Linked DNA regions of Homo sapiens: regions 1, 3 and 4 are each linked to region 2. The links are contacts of gene promoters, found by promoter capture Hi-C in blood cells and fetal thymus (Javierre and others, 2016). All regions are on one chromosome and are shown on one strand. The core of a region is centred on a gene start or on the middle of the fragment in contact, and the rest is flanking DNA. Distances in the headings are between cores, read along the strand shown. Region 1 overlaps SRSF5 (serine and arginine rich splicing factor 5). Region 2 holds the start of PALS1 (protein associated with LIN7 1, MAGUK p55 family member). Region 3 holds the start of FNTB (farnesyltransferase, CAAX box, subunit beta). Region 4 overlaps MAX (MYC associated factor X).

What was found. The method cuts DNA at HindIII sites, captures the fragments that hold promoters and counts their contacts. A CHiCAGO score of 5 or more calls a contact.
Region 1: a contact is called between a fragment that was not itself captured here and the fragment with the promoter of PALS1 in region 2, in 1 of 17 cell types (monocytes). The highest score is 8.1, in monocytes.
Region 3: a contact is called between the fragment with the promoter of FNTB here and the fragment with the promoter of PALS1 in region 2, in 1 of 17 cell types (M2 macrophages). The highest score is 5.2, in M2 macrophages.
Region 4: a contact is called between a fragment that was not itself captured here and the fragment with the promoter of PALS1 in region 2, in 4 of 17 cell types (naive CD8 T cells, fetal thymus, non-activated CD4 T cells and 1 more). The highest score is 6.4, in naive CD8 T cells.

Annotation. Positions count from the first base shown.
Region 1 is chr14:69,767,420-69,770,443 of GRCh38, forward strand. SRSF5 (serine and arginine rich splicing factor 5) reads left to right here. Exons shown (of 8, transcript NM_001320214.2): 2 at 719-863; 3 at 1,185-1,255; 4 at 1,379-1,477; 5 at 1,763-1,832. The coding sequence starts at 738. It overlaps LOC100289511 (a long non-coding RNA gene), which reads right to left and starts at 294. Exons shown (of 1, transcript NR_029378.1): 1 at 1-294. RefSeq lists enhancers at 1-603, 600-649. The HindIII fragment of the contact is 6,506 bases long and covers 1-3,024 here.
Region 2 is chr14:67,240,141-67,243,234 of GRCh38, forward strand. PALS1 (protein associated with LIN7 1, MAGUK p55 family member) reads left to right here and starts at 1,295. Exons shown (of 15, transcript NM_022474.4): 1 at 1,295-1,393. It overlaps LOC124903330 (a long non-coding RNA gene), which reads right to left and starts at 1,269. Exons shown (of 2, transcript XR_007064217.1): 1 at 1-1,269. It also overlaps a transcript of GPHN not described here. RefSeq lists an enhancer at 647-926 and a silencer at 907-1,876. The HindIII fragment of the contact is 3,073 bases long and covers 1-2,462 here.
Region 3 is chr14:64,985,645-64,988,947 of GRCh38, forward strand. FNTB (farnesyltransferase, CAAX box, subunit beta) reads left to right here and starts at 1,251. Exons shown (of 12, transcript NM_002028.4): 1 at 1,251-1,453. The coding sequence starts at 1,310. The region is part of intron 3 of CHURC1-FNTB (CHURC1-FNTB readthrough); the gene reads left to right. LOC107984655 (a long non-coding RNA gene) reads right to left here and starts at 1,469. Exons shown (of 2, transcript XR_001750792.2): 1 at 1,036-1,469; 2 at 1-955. The HindIII fragment of the contact is 3,816 bases long and covers 1-3,303 here.
Region 4 is chr14:65,095,396-65,098,831 of GRCh38, forward strand. The region is part of intron 2 of MAX (MYC associated factor X); the gene reads right to left. Among named protein-coding and RNA genes, the nearest start is that of MAX, 5.4 kb to the right of the region's middle. The HindIII fragment of the contact is 1,288 bases long and covers 942-2,229 here.

The sequences.
Region 1 (3,024 bases), core at 348-2,847, 2.5 Mb after region 2:
GAGGGGTACTGAGGTGAAAGGGCGGTCACTGTTCGGGTCGTTTTTACACAGCGGTTGTGCGCCCGTCCCTGCCAGTCTTAATGTCTTCATCTCCTGGACACGTAGAATAGTGGGCCGGGATCTCCCTGACTTTGCTGGCGATGCGGCTGGGCCTTTTGTAGGGCGGCCGCAGTGACCCCCGAGAAGGGGGTTGCTGGGAGGAGAAGGGAAGAGGGAATTTGGCACGCGCAGCTCTGCTGCCTTTGATTCCACCGCCGCCATTTTGTGGCCGCAGAGCGCCCGCCCGCTGCTGTTGGCGCAGGCGCGGTCGAGGCGTCGCGAGATTCTGGCTTCCACCCGCTGTGACGCGCCCGCGAGGCCGCCATTGGGCTGGCTTTGCGGAGGGCGCGGGCGGCTCCGCCCGCACTTCTCGGCCTTTCCTAACTGCGGCAGATGGGAGGGGGCCGGAGAGCCCGGAGAGTGTGCGGCTGCGCAGTTGGAAAGGTGGCAGTGGGCGTTGCGGTTGCTGCGGTCTGGGCCCAGTAGCGGACCGTGTTGGGAGGGAGCTGGGTTTTCATTTTGTCTGCAGGTAACCTGGCCTCATTAGAGGCTCTGTTGGCAATCTCGTTCATAACATCACTGTGTAAACATTTTATGCCGTTGATGTTTTTGATTGTTTAATCAGGCGTTTCTCTGTGACAGTCATTGCTATTATCTCGATTGAATTACTTTCTAATAGGAAGTACTAGCCGGACATCATGAGTGGCTGTCGGGTATTCATCGGGAGACTAAATCCAGCGGCCAGGGAGAAGGACGTGGAAAGATTCTTCAAGGGATATGGACGGATAAGAGATATTGATCTGAAAAGAGGCTTTGGTTTTGTGGTAAGTATTTAGAACTGGGTGAATTATCTGCTAAGTAGGTAGAGTTTTGATAAGCAGTTGTTTTCGATCTTGAGTCCGGGTGGAATATTTGCCTTCAGAAAATGTTACCCAGCCTTATGTCTGAATTTTATTGAGGCTGAAAACAACTTTAACTTGCCGGCTCACTGGAACCCCACTCCCAGTGGCTCCTTGATTAGGTTTGACTGTATGGCAGTGTCGTTAAGATACTCTTCCCATTCTGTCTCCTGATTTCAGTGCTCTTAATGTGTTGTAGAATACTCTTCTAAAGCCAATGTTAAGAGTCTTATGCTTACATTTTAGGAATTTGAGGATCCAAGGGATGCAGATGATGCTGTGTATGAGCTTGATGGAAAAGAACTCTGTAGTGAAAGGTGAGATTCCTGTGTAACTAGATAACCCTGGGACATAGAGCAGACTGGGTCTGCTGGCATATTTTTCTAAGTAGATTTATGTAGCTTAAGTGTGTAACGGAGATTTTTCTTCCCTTTTTGTAGGGTTACTATTGAACATGCTAGGGCTCGGTCACGAGGTGGAAGAGGTAGAGGACGATACTCTGACCGTTTTAGTAGTCGCAGACCTCGAAATGATAGACGGTATGTGAAGGGTGGATGGCTGCATTGAACAATTATTGTAGGGGTAGCATTTAAGATTCAGGAGTCATTAGCAGTGATGATTTTGGGTCCTGCCGTATAATCTGTTCTTCTATTCCCACGTTAGCCAGTTGTTCTTGATGAATCTATATGAGTCATAGAACACAAATCTATTGACGGAAGTCATTAGAATGGCTTGTGATATCTGATGGCTTGAACTTGCCCACAGTTGAACACAAGTGCTGTCATTGCATTTCTTCCATTGTGAATACGAATTTTCTTCCTCAGAAATGCTCCACCTGTAAGAACAGAAAATCGTCTTATAGTTGAGAATTTATCCTCAAGAGTCAGCTGGCAGGTTTGTTGAAATACAGTTTTGAGTTATTTTGATGTGGCTTTTTAAAAAAGTTAATGGGTAGCTAATGTTGTATTGTTTTATTAAAAGTAGTTTTAAATTAATGGATTTAATGGAATTGTAATTTTAAACATTTAATTAAATGTAATTTGGGGGATATTTTGAACTTTAATATTAGTGATCAAATGTAAATGTTTTGAGGATATTTTTCTTGTTTTTTAAAATCAATTTTTAACCAAATATTAAACCCTTTATTTGCCAGCCTGTCTGTGTCGTTGGCCTTATGACGAGGAGTGCCTGTGGGTTATCCTAATCGTTGTCTTGGTCACTCTTGGTTGGGCCTGGTTGACTTTGCCAGTCAGCTCCTACAGTGATCAGTTGGCCACCTCTAGATCTGTGTTTGCCGGTCTAGACGTTATCGGTGCACTTCCTTGAAGTGCCAGGTTGCAGCGATCCCAGAGCGTTGATAACGTGATCTGATCCCTAAGTTGAGACCTGTCTTCCTGTAACGCTTCCGAATAAGAGGTCCGGTCGAAAAGAGTTGAAAGATACGAAATTAGGTGGTCGTTGGAATCCTGATCGCAGTAAAGTGGTCCTTGGTAACTGCTCGAGTAGAACATGTCTGCATCCGCCAATAGTCCGCTAATAGGGAGGGCTGTGCGATTAAAGGCTTCCATCGATTGGGTAGTGTCCTTCAAGTGGGTGGCGAAGAGCCAGTCGGGCATATGTCATGAAGGTTTCTCCGACCGATTAATGGTTTGCTGCTTGACTAGCCTAGGGAAATAATAATAAAGGTAAAGTAAACTTTTTTAATGACATATGGGGCACAAAATAACTGGTGTCTTGTAAATGTTCTGTTTTTTTAAATAAAACTTCTCTACTTTAGTCTTTACTTTAAAAATATGTACTGTTTCCTTTTTTGTTGTTTTTTTGTTTGTTTTTTTTTCTTTTGTACTGAGCTCAGCATAGACTAATACTACCTTAATGTTAAAATCTGAATTTCTTTTAGCATTTTGCTTAAAAGCAATATGCTATTTGCTTATTCCGTGCCCTGACATAGATAATTTTTGAATTCTGATAGAATACAAGTGTGGTAAATGCCATGTTTGTACTTTATCTAACATCTTCTCTTTCAGTAGTCTTGTTTTTTTTATATCATGTGATTGTTTGTGTGTCCCCTTTCCTCTTCTTTGCT
Region 2 (3,094 bases), core at 45-2,544:
CTTATTAAACACTTGGACAGAATGCTGATCAGATTTGAGAAGGATAACAAATCTGGGAAGGGTAGGCATCCCCAAAGATCTTCACCACCAGGAACAACGGTTTGCTTCGTTCAGGCCATCACAGTGTCCTTAGTGAGGGACACCACAACCCATAGGCTGTCCAGAGGAGCGTAATGGGGAAGAATGTGAAAGAGCTTGAAAATCAGGACCTGAGGACATTGCGAGATGGAAAAACACCGTGGGACAAAATGAGGAAAACCGAGAGAAATGGAAATGGCATATACGAAGGCTTTGAGGGAGGACTGTGCCCCTGGGGGAAACTGTGCCCCCGGGCTGGAGTCACAGGCATAGTTTGGCCTCATAGAAGGAGAGGTCGATTAACAAACCTTGCAAGTGTTCAAATGTGGAATGGGCTTGCTCGGAAGGTACTGTCAAGACAGAGACCATCCGAGGGCTTTTATTGCAAGTGTCGAGACACATTGCTGGTGTTTCTCCTTAGAACGTCCTCCAATCTGCTCTGACTTCCGCCCGCACCCGCCTGAGTCCTGCCCCATTCCAAGGGTGGCACATCCAGGTCCCGAGGGCGCCAGCCATGCCCGGAGCACGGGCTGATCTGCGTAACTCTGTCCCTTCGGGAGACTTCTGGGAAATAGTTCTAGTCCTTGCTATCCTTGCTTTCTGGTTTTCAGAAATCAGTGCAGCTGCTGGCTTTATGCAGTCTTCTGCGGGACACTGCACACATCCAGGTGTTTATGTCATTTTTTAAAAAAAACAAATGTTAGATTGGGTGACTAACTTGACAGGACATGAGGAATCTCTTCAAGAGGAATCAGATTTTCTTCAGGATACGTCATCCAGAGACAAGAGCCAAGGGATGTAGAAACCCAGGGAAGCCTCGCGTCCCCACAAAGCCCGCCGGCCAAATCCCGAAGGGGCTCTACCGGGCCAGCTAGCCCGGAGCAGTCCGCGTTTTAGACTTAGAGGCGCGCGACTGCGCGCACCCGGCTGGAGCTGCGGAGAGGACCAATGAGCGGGCGCTCTCTCCGCTCCGGCTCGGGATTGGGCAAGCCGCGCCAGCCTCTCACGGGCGGGGTGGGACTCGGATCCGCGCGCCCACTGCGCCAGAGTCCCGGGGGCGCGTGCGCGGTCTCGCGGCGGCCGCAGGGGCCGGTCTCGCGCGGTCTAGAAGTGGAGTTGCTGGCGGCTGCGGCGGTGACGGCGGCGACGGAGGAGGCAGGCGGTGGGGCGGGGGCGGGGACTAAGGATTCTGAGGTGGGGAGTCGGGAGTTTCTGGATTCTTTATCCGGAATTTCAAGGGCCGCCGGAGGGCTGTCGCTTCTGCAGTGCGTAGGAGCGGCCGGGGCGGGAGGCTCCGCGGAGCCGAGGCGTGGAGGTAAGAGGCGGATCGGCGGCGGCTGGGCTGTAGAGATCTTAATCAACAGGTCCCTGGGAGCGCGGCGGGGGAGGGGCGGGCGGCCGGGCTCCCCTTCCCCCACACGCTGCGCAAACTCCGGCCAGCGGGAGACCCCTGGCAGCCAGGCGGGCTTCCTCAGGCGCGCGAGCTGCGGCCGTGGAGGGTGTGAGCCCAACCTTTGTCCCTCGGAGCAACGCTGCCTGCGCGGTGCCCGCTCCTTCTGCTTGGCTGGGCATGCACCTTGGCGCGGGCCACAGCCAGCCGAGCCCGAGGTGCAGGGGGCGCGGCGGGGAGTCGTCTGCCCCCTGCGCCCTCTCTCCGAGGTCGCGACGCGCGGGACTCTCCCGGCCGGGTCTGGGAAATCGGCGAGGGAACGCTTTCCTTTAGAAGTCAGAATGTAGTCAGCGTTCCTCTGCCTGACTCAGCTGCTGGTATTCTGCTGCTCATTGCGTTCTTAAACACGCAAACAGTTCCTGCTTCCTTGTGACCACTTTAAAAGAAAAGCCTAGTTTTGTTCATGGTTTCTGATACTTTAAGGTTGCACGTTGAACTTTGAAGCATGTAAATTGTTATAACCTACGTTTAATGAAGTTTGCTTTAAACGATCTTTGTAGTAAATTATGTAACTTTCTAATGATCATAACTCACCTTCTGTTGATTGACATACAGTAATGTGTACGGAATGTAGGTTTCGGTCAAAAGGTTTTTCTTGGCAGTTTATGCTAAAATTAAAATCTGATGGCTAGGAAGTTTTTAGATGTAGTATGGAGTGTGTGTTTTGTCTCCATACTCGTTTAGAATAGTAAGAATTTAGATTTGGAAAGTCAGTTGAACAAAAATTTTGAAATTTTGATTTGACTGACGCAGTGAAAGGTGTTAATATTTCTGATTTTTTAAAAAAGCAATATCATGTTTTAATGATAGTTTACTAATTATGCTTTTGGATTATACCAGAAGTTAATAACCTGTTAAATTATGCAATAGGAACAAATGACGTGTTGGTTATTGGTGTCTTTGAAGTATTGGTGGTAATGAAACTTATTAAATAAGCTTCCTTGAATTAAGAACTACGATTTTTTTTTTTTACTAGATCCCTGTGGACATAGCTATTGTGGATAGGTTTTATAGGCTTTCTATTTGCGGCAGGATGAGCTATTAAATTATAATGTAAGAGATTTATAGATAAAACAGGCAAAAATAGGAAAAGCAATTCATTATTTTATCTTTAAAAATCTGGTAAATTTTACCATGTACCTGAATTAGTTTTGGCAAGACGGACTTGAACTTGACAAATTAAGGTGGATTGATTAACATTAATTTGTTTTAGAATGTTAAAACGGGAGAGAATATATAAGTTCTACTTGAGGGTGACCCAAGTCAGTACAGTGGGTTTAGCTTTTACATGATCTTGAATTATGATTTTGATTAAAAATCTCATCACAGGGGCACGTGTTTTCAGGATCTCCTGAGGGCTGTGTCATGGAAAAAATAAAATTTATCACCCATTCCAAGAAATTTGATCAATTTTATATATTATTTACTGAAATGCCCTATTTCTCTGATATTTTCTGATTTCAGAGTGTCTAGAAAAAAATAGTATCTTGACATATGTGCTTATATAGAATATAATTGTCTTTTCTTTTTTTTTTTGTGAGACATAGTCTCGCTCTTGCCCAGGCT
Region 3 (3,303 bases), core at 1-2,500, 2.3 Mb before region 2:
TTGTTTTTTTGTTTTGCTTTTTTTTTTTTTTTGAAACAGGGTCTCGCTCTGCCACCCAGGCTGGAGTGCAGTGGCACAATCATAGCTCACTGCAGCCTCGACTTCTTGGGCTCAAGAGATCCTCCCACCTTAGCCTGTCGAGCAGCTGGGACTACAGGCATGCGCCACCACGCCCGGCTAATTTTTTTGATATTTAATAGAGATGAGGTCTTGCTATGTTGCCCAGGATGTTCTAACTCCTCAAGTGATCCTCCTGCCTCAGCCTCCCAAAGTGCTGGGGTTACAGGCGTGAGCCACCGTGCCCAGCACATGTCTTCTAAAAGCTGCTGTTTCTTCCTTTTTCAGGAGTTCTTTCCCATACTGTTCTTCTGGATGACTCCTCGTCATCCTTCGGATCTCAAATGAAAGGTCATTTAGAGAGGCTTGGCCTGACCATACAATTCAATTAGTTTCTTACCCCTTTAGTCTCTCTCATAGACCCTGTTATTTTCCTTCATCTCATTTATCACAAGTCTTCATATATTTATTGCGTTGGATACATTCAATTCTGTCGATTTTCTTAGAATGTAAGGTTTCCAAGGGAAGGGACTTCGTTTTGTTCACTTTTGTATTCCTAGAACCTAGCACAATGCCTGACACATAGCAGGTGTTCCATAAATATCTGCGGACTGACTGTCTATTTCACTTATCCTTGTTCCTTGTACTGCATTTCAGTTCTCGCTACTGCAGTGTAACCTCCAAGAGACAGGAGAAAATCATAATACCCCCCTCCCTCCATCACTGAGTGATACTGAGACGGCGTCCTTGCACGTTTGAGCAGCTGCTGCCTTCTCCTGGGAGGCTGTCAAGTACCCCAAGGTGCACAATAATTCTTTTAGTAATTGCCTGACTGAGGCAAATCAGTAGAGCTGTCAGAAATGCTTTCAAACTTAACATTCATTGGGTTCTTGGGCACCTGAAATTGCAAACAATTGCATTACAATTAAGTGAGAATTAGCAGAATGTTACAGTTCTTTAACAATTTGCGTAACAAACCGAGGCGTCCTACGCCATCTCGCTGAAATGAAATTCGGATGTAGACACCCTTGCGCTTCAGGACTCTACGCTCTTGCAGCAGCTCCTCTGCCCAATGGGGGGCGGCAGCATCTCAGTAACTCACTCGAAAGACGGGTAGGCGGGAGGAGACATTCGCGTTCAAAATCTTTTTGCCTCTATCCGCTCGCCGTAGCGCTTTAGCCCGCTCGAGTTTCAATGCGCGTTGTTGCTTAACGAAGCAGAGTCCTACACACTGTCTGCTGCTCTCCTGATCATGGCTTCTCCGAGTTCTTTCACCTACTATTGCCCTCCATCTTCCTCCCCCGTCTGGTCAGAGCCGCTGTACAGTCTGAGGCCCGAGCACGCGCGAGAGCGGTTGCAGGACGACTCGGTGGAAACAGTCACGTCCATAGAACAGGTGAGGTGGCAGGACTGGGCGAGGCGCCCGCGCGATGTGTTCTGGGAGCGCGAGTCCCGTTCGTAGGGCCGCCCGGGTGCGGAACTCACCGGGGAACTACGACTCCCACAGCGCACCGCGGTGCCTTTCCTCTGGGAAGCTCCGGGCGCCCAGGCTTGGGCTTCGTCGTGGAGCGTTTGCGCGGCCAGCTTGGGGAAGGGTCGTTTCAAGGTTGGGCTTGGAGGAGAGGGCAGTAGCCGAGTCCCCTCTGCCCTAAAGAACGAGAAGAATCGTGTTCTATGCCTGGAGGACAGAGGCAGCCCGTGCGGGTCGGACAGCCCACTCTGTTCTGCCAGTACTTCGGGAGGTTCTGGGGTGCATAGTGCACTTTTCCCAACCTGCCCTCAGCTTCTGGAGGCAGAGAGCAGGGCCAGGCTGCTGTCATGCCGTTTCACGATCTGTTTAATTTTTGACCTACAGTGCCAGGTTTGGGGGCCCGCCTCGTGGGTGGGCATTTTGGTAGTCATTCAGCCATTTGAGCACCAGCTACGTGTCGGACACAATATTAAACGATGGAAGTACAAGGAAATAAAACAGCTCCTGACCAGGAGCCTGGTTGGGGGACAGGCAGGAAAACAGTTTGGAAAGTGATCTAATAGAAAGAATGGATTTTGGACTACTAATCATTCCCTAAGGCCTAGAAGTAGGATCGAACCTATCATTTTGAAAAGTGTTTGGCGAATGAGTATATATTCATATGCCCAAAACCATAGTTTTGTTTTTCTTCTTATTCCCTAATTGGAATTGTTCCCAAGGTTGCTATGTGGAACTGTTTATCCATCTGTCCCTAGGAGAAGTGGTTAGGATAATTCTTAACACTAATAAATGAACATTCTGCTGCTTACTGAAATAAGATCTCTTAGTGAGATCAGTCTCCAGGCTTTACCTTGGAGAGACCTGTTTTGTATTTCCTACTTTAAGTTGGAAGCCTGTACTTTGGCAAAATTAGTAACAATAATTGTTTTATTGTACAGTTATGACTAAATAGAATTATAAATTTATAACAGAAACAAGGGCTTGATACGTGGTTATTCACAAAGTAGCAGAGAAAATATTTTAACTGGAGATTTAAACTTCATGGAATTTAGGGTAGCAAAGGAAATCCTCACCTCTCGAATCTAGCTAATTCTCCAGGTTGGTTTGCCTACCAGTGTGTCCCAGGGAAGGCTGACTGCAAAAGATTGTAAAGAAATTTCCCATTGATGAAAAACCTACAGGATCTTTGCAGAATTCCTAAATGATGGATTGCTGAGTTGATTCAGGTCAAGTGTTTTACTTATTATCTGACCTTAGACTATGGGATTGCCTTTTTTTTTTTTTTTTTTTTTGAGATGGGGTCTCGCCCTGTTGCCAGGCTGGGATGCACTGGCTTACTGCACCCTCCGCCTCCCGGGTTCACGCCATTCGCCTGCCTCAGCCTCCAGAGTAGCTGAGACTACAGGCGCCCACCACCACGCCTGGCTAATTTTTGTATTTTAGTAGAGACAGGTTTCACCATGTGGCCAGGCTGGTTTTGAACTCCTGACCTCCAGTGATCTGCCCTCCTCGGCCTCCTAGAGTGCTGGGATTACAGTCGTGAGCCACTGCTCCTGGTGCGAGTATCTTTCAAATCTAGACCCAACGGTATGGCAGACAGTAAAGAATCTTATATTTCTTTTTCATGTTGTTATTCCAGCACACATTATTAGAGTCTAGGATGAACAGTTTCAGGTAGTAGGATGATAATGTTGTATCTCATTTTTGTGGCCTTCCTCACTGTTTTAATAATCATGTTAGTGACCATTTATTGAGTCTCAGCACAGTGCTAAATG
Region 4 (3,436 bases), core at 336-2,835, 2.1 Mb before region 2:
TCAAGTTTGGAACACCACATAACCTGAGGGTAGAGGTAGGTACTCTGTATCATACAACTTTAGCGCAAAATTATAGATGCCTTCTAACAGTAGCATGAAATAGTGCGACAGAATTGAACCTATTTAAGTATCTAGTCCTTTTGAACTTACTGTTGTTCCCTCTGATCATCTACATAAAGATAAGTTGGGCTGCGACTATACCTAAGGAGCTTAAAGGCCAAGAGACAATATTTGGCATGTGTCTGCGGCTCCTGTTTGCTATATACTACCTAAGGTGGTTTATTTACATGCAAATTAATTGCCCATCTTTGGTCTCCAGAGCAGCCCAAGATACTCCTGTCTACTAAATCACCCTGATTCTTGGCCCTCCTCCCAGCTAAGAGCTGTGCACCAGAATTACCCACAATCCCTCTTGTTGATACAAATAAAATTCTAATTGTCTGTTTTCTTTCTGGGAGAGCCCTGCAAATCTCAAACAGCTAGAATGAAGTTGCACTTGGTTTCACGTGGACCTGCACTAAAGGGGTGGAGCTAAGTATAATCTAACACCAAAATCATCCCCACAATGCACTACCCCCTCCCATTCACTGAGCTCTGAAAGGACTCAAATGGACAAGTCTCTCGGTTGGAGGATTGTAAGTGAACTTGGCTGTAGATCATGAGCAGAAATCTTGGCTTCTCATCTGGGGAGCCAGCCAAGTTTGAGAAGTTGGCTCAACAAGGAAAGGCAGCAGTCCACTGCCTGGTAGAAAGCCTGGGCTGGGGACTGTTGTTCTCAAAGTAGTGGATGGAATTTCTGTAGTGGTTCCAGGCCCAATTTAACTAGCAGAAGAGTGGAATCTTACACCAATCCCTGCTGCCATGTCCATCCCTGAGCTACTAGTGGAGTCAATTTTAAATCTCTCAGAGACAATGGCAAGGATGTATTTTTCTCTTCCCCAAGCTTGATTTGAAAGAACAAGTTAAAAACATGCAGAACTAACAAGCCTAATTCCAGGCAACTGTGAATTAAATGTTATCACTAATGTTTTGAAAGAGCACATGAAAAACAGAAAAACCTTTACACAAGGCTGAGAATTCTCTGTGGGAAACATTTCCAAACCACAGATCCACCCAGACCAATAACACTGCCCGCGCCTCATCCCCACCCCCATTGGAGGACTAGTTTGCAGGCTTTATCACTGCCTTGTTAACTGTCTTTGCTTGCTGGCAACCCTTTTTGAGAGGGCCAAGATTTCAGAGTTGAAGAAGAAAAACTGGGTGAAGACTCCCAGTGTAAGGCATCTAATATCCTCCCCCAAATGCAAAACTGGTTTTAAAAAACAAGCCCAAACAATTGTCTTGAACAAATAAAACTCTACTCAGATGAGCCTGTACTGAGAATGATGTTCAGTAATGAAAACAAATGGTACGGAAAACCCCCTTGTGGAATTAATTAGGCCCTATTCTAGGAGACCACAGAGGTATTCTTGGACTGTACAGCAGGCTCCCAAACATCTCCCCTACACATCCTATGGTTACAGTGGCTGGATGCTGCCCACTCTTCTAGTACGCTGGATTTGTACGTCTGGATGTCTGCCAGAAAACCCTTCCTCCAGGGCATCCCTAACAGAAATACTAAGGGGCTATGCAGTGGTCCACAGATGCTCAACAGAAACTCCCGCACCAAATCACTTCCAGCTTTGACATCTCTGCCAAAGTTTTTATTCAGCCTCTCAGTTATATTTCTACCCAACTTTCCACACTGGTAGACAGAATAAAAATCTTCACCTACAATTTGTCCATCTTTGACACTACCAAGCACGTGTATCTTAAGTGTTGTTAGATGTTGAAGACAAACATTATTTTGTTAGCCAAGAAGTTGCTATGTTGGCAAGAAGTCATCTAGGCTAAGGAGGTCTGTTCAAAATTGAGGGAAATCTCTTAAAATTATTTCCTTCCAACTTACTGCAGAGAGACTGCATCTTTGTTCAAGGCATCACATCAGTCAGTAATCTTATTTCCTCCAAGTTCTAGGCAAATAGCACGGGGAAATAAATGCTTCATTATTCCAGGATGCACAAGGTTCTCCAGAACAATGCCATGTCTTACAGGCTACCTGACAGCTAACCCCACCTATAAGGGGAACCATCTCAATTCTAATACAGAAAATTCTCAGCATATAGGGAATTAGTTGCCCACTCAATATTTACTACCTTTACAAAATGTGAAGGTTGTATTTTAGAGGGAAGCTTGTGTTGCTTATGATTCTTATCAAGCTATTCTTATTAGAGACTAAGGACACGAGAATACACAGACCCAAAAATCTCATCCGAAAAGATCTATTTCTTACTTCTGATAGATAAGAACAAGATAGGATAAAGCTCAATTTCTAAGCAACTTAAAATATTCATTTTAATCAACCCAAAAATTATAACATAAAATAATAGGCAGGTAGGATGGGATAAACTCACCAAGCTCCCTAAGAGAAAGACATGGATTTCAATTTTCCAATACCTGTCCTGCTTGTAGCTGATTGCCTGGTATACATTTCCAACATTATCTAATGTATGTATTTGTTTTCAAACTTTTTTCTTTTGGTGCCTAAAATAACTGGCAAATGCTATAATCCAAACAGGGCCTCATACTATAGCCATTTCAGAGAAGGATGCCTTGGTCAGGAAATTTTAATTAAAAACCAAGCTGAATTCTTTGACCAACTATTTCACCGTTACTGGCATCTTGGAAAAATTCTTTTAGACATAAGAACAACTTTTACCCTAACACAGGCACATTTAGGAACTAACTCTGGCATTTGTTATCACTGTAAGCATCACTGTCAACACTCTAAGCAGAGAAAAAGTACATGCATTGTGCAGCACTTTTGCCATGCAACTGACTGCAGGTAAAACAGACAGTAGTTTCCTGAGTGAATTCCAATCTCGGAGGCTACCAAGCTCGTTCTCTTCTGAATATTCCTAAAGAAGCAAAGAGCTCTGAGAAGTTAAAAATATTTCATGCCAGAAAGGTCCAGAAGTGGAATTGCACAAATCTGTTTTCAAACCCCTCACAAGTATACTGCAACTGCAACTCAGTCAGGTGCCATCAAGGATGGTCACTGGAAAAAAAATTGCATTTCCTGACCAACACACTAACCCATACATTTCCTGTATACTTACACTCTTTCCTAAAGAAATTTCCCAAACAGAAATAAAGCAAAAGGAAGCCCTTGCAATATAATATACCTGTCCCACAAATTTATCTTTAAAATGCAACCTCTTCCCTCCAAAATATAATAAAAATAACATCAGTGGGATTTTGCGATGTACTGAATTTAGTAGTAAGAATACTCTTTGGGGTTACTTCCTTTAACAAAGCTTACTGGCCATTGGAGAAGCTGTTTTCCGTTTGTACTGAAGCAATAGAAAAAAATATTTGCCAAATCAGTTTCACTTTC